Regions from separate parts of the Homo sapiens genome. Here region 1 is linked to region 2. The links are contacts of gene promoters, found by promoter capture Hi-C in blood cells and fetal thymus (Javierre and others, 2016). All regions are on one chromosome and are shown on one strand. The core of a region is centred on a gene start or on the middle of the fragment in contact, and the rest is flanking DNA. Distances in the headings are between cores, read along the strand shown. Region 1 has its middle 17 kb from the start of GKN2. Region 2 holds the start of PROKR1 (prokineticin receptor 1).

Region 1 (3,558 bases), core at 19-2,518, 290 kb after region 2:
TCTCCGGTGTCTACCCATTAGATGCCAATAACGTACCCTCCAGCTGTAACAATCAAAAATATCTCCAAACACCACTAGACGTCTCCAGGGGAGGGGAGAAAAATCACACCCCAGTTGAAAACTACTGATTCAGACTAATCATGATTAATCCCCTGGAACTAAAGGAATATATTTTCTAAAATTAAGGGCTTTTTTTTTGTTGCTACTTAAATTGGAGCTGTGGGGTTGGGTAATCAATGGACTGGTTTTGCCACAGAGTATTAGACAACTCTTACCAGCAATAGATGAATAAGCATTTCTTTTAAAGGTCATATCCTCGTTAGTTTCTGCCTGTTTGGGGTAACTTTATTGTCTTCAAATGGCTACTATTTATATTTTTTTCCAGGTTTACAATTGTTATGGAAGGCATGTTAGTCTGATATAAGCTACTTCATCATTATTAGAAGCTAGAAGTCTCAATATTTTATTAATTCACCAATTTATATTTATTATGTTTGAGTTAACAAATGCTTGAATTCATTCATTGAGTCAGTTATCCAAACAGACATTTGTATAATAAAGTATTTGTCTGGGTCCATGTATTCTAATCCTGGGAGCTCTGAATGAACAAATCCTATTTAATTCTATCTCAGATGAGCAAACGAGTTTGCGTGACATGTGACATGTCATTTACTGTAAGAAACACAATTGTATGGGAAATAACAAAAATAAGAACCTCATCTACATGCCTCACCCAGCTTCCTGCAAAAGCTCCATTGGCACACTCATATCCTGGGCCCAGTTGCTCCTTCAGGCCAGCTTTTTTTTAAAAAAAAAAAAAAAACACAAACATCAGTATATTTTATGTGCATACATATGAAAAGGAAGACAGAGGGACCAATGAAGACTCAGAGCAGGCAGTACGCACACACACTGGTCATGTGTCCTTTTCAAGAGCTGCCCATTTGGGAGACAGTCTCACCCACCTCAAAGGTCCTTTTGCAGAGCCAGGGCCTGCAGCTCCTCCAGGTCTGGGGTGGCCTCAAGGTGGAAGGTACTCTCCCTGCTGCAGCTCCTCTAAGGGCTGGGCCTCTTACTTGTCTTCACTGAGGATGATGCCTACACACTCCAGAGCTTCATAAATGCAGGTTCTCATGAACTGATCCACTCAGTGGATGCCTTCCCAGGAGATCCATGCGGAGTGAGGGACCAGGACTAAAGGGTTTCGTGGGCACTCCCTAGGTATTACTGCTGTGAATAAGCATAGACCATTGTGACTCACTGGCATCGAAGAGGGCATAGGGCACATGGGACGGGATGCCTAGCAGATGTCAGAAGCGGTTCAACCATGCAGGGCAGCACATTGTTGTCTGTAACTTAGAGATGCTGCTGTGTCCAGTGGAGAGAGACCCAGGACAGCAGAGGTTCATGAACAGCCAGCAGACACTCCCCACCAGCACCCCTACTGTTTGGCAGGGCTGTGATTACTCCAAACTTTGAATCCCTGGGCACTAAGGGATTGGGGATCTAATACCCTGCAAAGCAAGTTGAAGTCTGGGCTATCACTAGTGAGATCTGAACCAGTATATCCCGTGGTCAGACAGGCAGCATTGCATTTGCTGTCTCCCTTTGCTGAAGGATTGATGCCCTATGACGGGAAATGGGAGCAACAGGACACCTAGATGAAGCAGCAAACACAATGCTGGATGTTGCCAAGCACACAGGTGTACCCCAGAACCTCCTGCACTTGGGAGCTTACAGGACCCAGAGAGAAAATGGTGCCAGGGAATGCCCACAAGTCCACATCTGAAGCAGCGAGACCCGCTGGGCCATCCGAGGGCTAGCTCTGGCTGAGAATTAAGGAAGTATCAATAAGCTGGTCACTGGACTCAGTTGTGGAATGGGAGTGTGAAGGTGGGTGGTGTGGTCTAGGGGCCCACATGGAAGACCTGGAGGGGTACTGGGATCCAGGAGACTGAGACAACATGGAGCTGGGGAGAGAACCAAGGAAACAACCCAGAGAGAACAGTGAAGCCAGACAGTATTCTCCTTCTGGAATCTTCTCCAACTGTAGATGAGAAGCAGTCTACCTCCCCCCGCCCCACCCCACTGAAAGCCTGGTTCCCTGTAACCCTCAAAGCCCTGGAATTGGTACCATAATAAAACCAAAAGGAGAGCTGGCCCTGCAGAAAGTATTAATAGTTCATCCCTGGATTTGAGGAGCCTGCCCAGGCAGGAAACAGGCTGGGAAATTCCCTTCATTCTGCCCAGGAGATGGCTAATTGCAGAAAAATCCTGCCAAAGGCAGAGTCTGCAAGCCTTTCTCCAGAACTGGGACACCACTGCTTCCCTTCCCACCACAGCCTGCCCCAGCCTGCACCCCGGGTGGTGCTATCTACAAGGTGCAGGTAGGGAAGCCAGCAGGGAAGAAATTAGCCTTCTCCTTTTTAAAAATCATTTTAAAAGTGGCAATATCTGCTGTGGAGTGTGGTAGTACCACTTTTTAAGTGATTCATAAAAAGGGAAATGCTAATTTGTACTTGAGTCCTAGTGTGGTCAAGAAGGGACCATGTACCATGGGATGGGCCACTTTCTAAAAGTCCCTACCCCTCGGGGAATGAGGAACAGAGCTGAAGTAGGCTAGAGTAAGGATTTTACCTGTCCACTGCCAGCAAAGGACCTGTCACAGGAGAAAGGGGGTTGGGGAAACCAAGATGACAATGCCTATAAGTGTGGCATGGTTAATACTGTGTAAGGAGTAAGCTCAAAGCATCAGCCTCACTGGGAGGGGTGTGGAGAGAGGGGAAGCCCTGAGGAGGTTTTGCTACAGGGCTGGGAGTATGGCCAAACCAGAACTAATCCCCTCCCACAAACCATTCTCCAAAGAGCCTTCCACAGCTGAAAGGTCCTCCTCTCTCTTTCTCCCCCGTTCTCCATGGGTTTCCAATGCTGGATACCTGCTCCTCCATCCCGCAGAAAGCTAGATTGCTCGGCTGGCTTGAAAATAAACTAGTCAGGGCACAGATGACCTAGAACTCTGCCTTTTCCCTATCAAACTAACTTGCCTCTAGGTCCCCATTGTGGATCCACAAGGCCATTCCAGCCTGACTGTGCATTGGAGGATACCATCAGTTCTCAGCTGGGCCACTATGAGGAGAGAGCACTGCCAGAACCCACTAGACTCTGGGCAGGGAGGCATAACTCAGCTCAAGCCAGCTTTTGTAGTCTGACCAACTCTTCCAGCATCCTGGGTGCTTTGTGGTATTCGGTCCAGGTTTGCTCCTTCTCCCTGATGGCCCAGAGAGGGTCTCTGGCTTGAGCATCCAGTAAGTTAACGGAGTCGATGTCTACTTTTTTCAGTCTTTAAGAGGGGGCTAATTATGGAAAAAATATAACCAAAGCCCCAGCTGCATTGTAGCTTCCATTTAGACACATTCCTTTTAGGGTGTGCCTGTTATCCTCCACTGGCTGCTCCTAACACGTATTCAGCATGACAACAGCAAAGAGGAGAGTTAGAGAGCAAATGCTAAAAATAGGAGCAATGCTATAAAAATTAATGAGGATAACACATCTCTAAGC
Region 2 (3,306 bases), core at 804-3,303:
AATGCCTGAAAAAGCTCCACCAAAGAGTCCTTCTCCACCATGACAATACTACTGCTCATTCCTCTAATTGAACAAGGGCAATTATTAGCCATCCTTCTTACCATCCTGATTTGGCTCTTTCTGACTTCATTTCCTAATCTTAAAAAGTCTTTAAGGAGCAGCTATTTTTCTTACGTTAATAATGTAAAAAAAAAGGGCTTCATTGACATGGTTAAGTTCCCAGGACCCATGCCAGGCCTGGTGGCTCATGCTTGTAATCCCAGCATTTTGGGAGGCTGAGGTGAGAGGATTGCTTGAGGCCAGGAGTTTGAGACCAGCCTGAGCAACCTAGCCAGACCCTGTTTTAACAAAAAAATAAAAATAAATAAATAAAATAGAAAAATTCCCAGGATCCTTAGTCCTTTAGAGATGGACTAAATGTCTGCCATCATTACAAAAGCATCTTGAACGTGATGGAGCTTATGCTGAGAGCTAAAGTTTATGTATTTTTATCTTTTAATTCCATTTTCCCACAAACTTTTGGAAGTTCCCATGTGAGTGTATGTGTGTATGTGGAGCATTTTGTTTGTCCCTTCATCATTGATGGACATTTGGATTGTTTCCATGTTTTCGCTATGGTGAATAATGCTGCTATGAACATGGATGTACAAACATGCCTTTGAGACCCTGTGTATTAGTTCACTTGCACACTGCTGATAAAGACATACCGGAAACTGGGAACAAAAGGAGGTTTAATTGGACTTACAGTTCCACATGACTGGGGAGGCCTCAGAATCAAGGCAGGAGGTGAAAGGCATTCCTTACGTGGTAGCATCAAGAGGAAACTGAGGGAGAAGCAAAAGTGGAAACCCCTGATAAACCCACAGGATCTCGTCAGGCTTATTCACTATCACGAGAATAGCATGGGAAAAACAGGCTCCCATGATTCAATTACCTTCCCCTGGGTCCCTCCCACAATACGTGGGAATTCTGGGAGATACAATTCAAGTTGAGATTTGGGTGGGGACACAGCCAAACCGTATCACCCTGCTTTTAATTTTTTGGGTTAGACACCCGGAAGTGGAAACACTCGATCATATGGTAATTGTATTTTTTAACTTTTTGAGGAAACCCTATACTGTTTTCTACAGTGGCTTCACCATTTTACTTTCCTACCGACAGTGCACAGGGTTCCAGTTTCTCCACATTCTCACCAACACTTGTTATCATTTCTTTTTACAGCTGGATAATATTCTATTGCATGTATATACTATATGTATTTTGTTAATCCACTTAGCTGATGGACATTTGGGTTGTTTCTGTCTTTTGGCTACTGTGAATAGTGCTGCCATGAACATCAGTGTATGTGTGTCCCTGCTTTCAATAGTTTGGGGTTACATACCTTGGAGTGGGATTGCGGGACTATATGCCTCACGTTTTGAGGAATCTATGGGCTTGTAAAGGTAGACTGTGCTCTGTAAGTCAGCGCTGTCCGTCCCAGCCTTCTAAGCAGACATCCCTGGGCGGGGGTCCTTCCTCTCTCCAGTGTGCTACCCCGCCCCCTTGTTTGCTCTCCAGAAAGCACTTCTCTGAGCCTCTTTTACGGAGAGGTAGGGCAGCTGGCAACAAAGATGGCCCTGGTGTCCGTTCAGGCTGGCCCAGGGGACCAGGTTGGGGCCGGCCCCTGAGTGTCCCCTGAGGAGGTGTGTGAGCAGCGGGGGAGGCTCCTCGGTCCTTTGCAAGCTCGCGGCTGAGCGGGGCCGTGTCCGTCCACTCCGACGGCGCTGGGCTGCCAAGGTGAGCCGCCGAGGAGCCCCGTGCCCCGAGGCGGGCACAGCCGCCCTGCATGGGTGCCCCCGGCGCGGGATTGACGCAGAGCCCTGCCCGGAGCCCCAGCGACCCCGTTCCTGCCCCAGGCGGCCGTTCCGAAGCCTGAGCCGGGCAACGCGCAGCCCGCCTGGCCCGGCTCCCTCCCGCGCGTCCTCGTCGCGAGCTGCCGCCTGGGAGCTCCAGACGCTCCCGCCCAGGGCGATCCGGACGCTCCCGCCCAGGGCGATCCCGGCCTCTGCAGCCCAGCTGGCGACACGCCTCGCCAAGAGCCCGCACCTCGGCGCCTCACGGCCACCGGAGGCGGGGACAGGGAGTCCGGCGCGGGCCGGGTCGGGGGATCTGCAGCGGCGGCGCGAAGGTAACTCCCCCGCCAGAGCCGGGAAAGAGCCCCGAGCAGAGGAGGAAGGGAGCGGGGACCTGCCCTTCGCCTGCCGGCTTCTGGAAGAAGCGTCTCCTGATCCGGCCCCGGAATAAGAAACCCGGACCTTGCCTGCCGGGCTCCGCGATGCCGCAGGTACAGAGCGCGCCCTCCCGGGGAGGATGCTCCAGGGACCCCGCGCTGCACTGGCTGCGGCCGTGGGGTGCGGCGGCTTCTGAGTGAAGAGGGGACTTTGCCAGGGATTCACTCCTGTGAGTTTCTTCAGGAGAGCCAGGCTTCCCCTCCTCTGTCCTTAGGGGAAGCTGCCCAGGCTCCAGGGAGAAAGTTGGGAGCAGGCGGGGGACTTGCCAGCAGGGGTTTGTGAGAGAGGCTTCTAGCGATCGAGAGGTCACCAGGTGGGGGTAGGATTGGGGTTCCCCTCTGAACGGTGAGAATAAAGGAGAAAAGACCTCTGGACAATCATCCTTAATCTCGTGACGCCCTCCTCTCCACCCCCGAAGCTTCTGTATTCTTTGCTTTTAAACACTACTTTGACCCTTCAGGTAGCATGCTTGTAGGGGTACCCCTCCAGGAGTGGCATGCCTCTGCGACCCACGGGACCTGCAAGGAGTGGGGCTTGTCCCGCCTGGGTTCCAAGCCTGCCCCCCTCCTTCTTTTCAGCTGAGTTCTGCCTCTCCTCCCTGAGTGGGCAGAGGGCAAGGGCTGAGCCAGACAGAATTGAGAGCTCGGAGGAAGGAAAAAATCAGGGTAAGGAGTTAGGACAGAGAGGCAGCAATGGGGCTGAGCCTCACTGGGGCGCAGAGGGACTTTAAACTTGGCCCCAAGAAGACAGGCTCCAGATGTTTTGCCTCGGAGGAATATGGAGAGCAGGCTTTCCTGGGGGTGGGGAGGTGGGGTCCTGGGCATCTTCCTCATCTTCCTTTCCCAGGAAAACTCTGGCTTGCATTCTTCCCTCTGTTCTCCTGACATTTGTTTTAGGGTGCTCTCCAGACCTCAGCCCTCCTTCTACGTCCCACTCCCTGGTCTGATGTCTTCAGGGTTTGGGAGGGACTGCAGGGAGAGAGCAGGGGACAGGGGGACTCTGGCTGCCTCCCTGTCCCCACCAGGGCAGCTGACAC

The links. Contacts are between HindIII fragments. The CHiCAGO score rates a contact against its expected background, and 5 or more counts as called.
Region 1: a contact is called between a fragment that was not itself captured here and the fragment with the promoter of PROKR1 in region 2, in 1 of 17 cell types (non-activated CD4 T cells). The highest score is 5.3, in non-activated CD4 T cells.

The regions. Positions count from the first base shown.
Region 1 is chr2:68,934,392-68,937,949 of GRCh38, forward strand. No RefSeq gene overlaps it. Among named protein-coding and RNA genes, the nearest start is that of GKN2, 17 kb to the right of the region's middle. The HindIII fragment of the contact is 9,532 bases long and covers 1-3,558 here.
Region 2 is chr2:68,641,526-68,644,831 of GRCh38, forward strand. It overlaps PROKR1 (prokineticin receptor 1), which reads left to right and starts at 2,054. Exons shown (of 3, transcript NM_138964.4): 1 at 2,054-2,323. The HindIII fragment of the contact is 2,701 bases long and covers 1-2,686 here.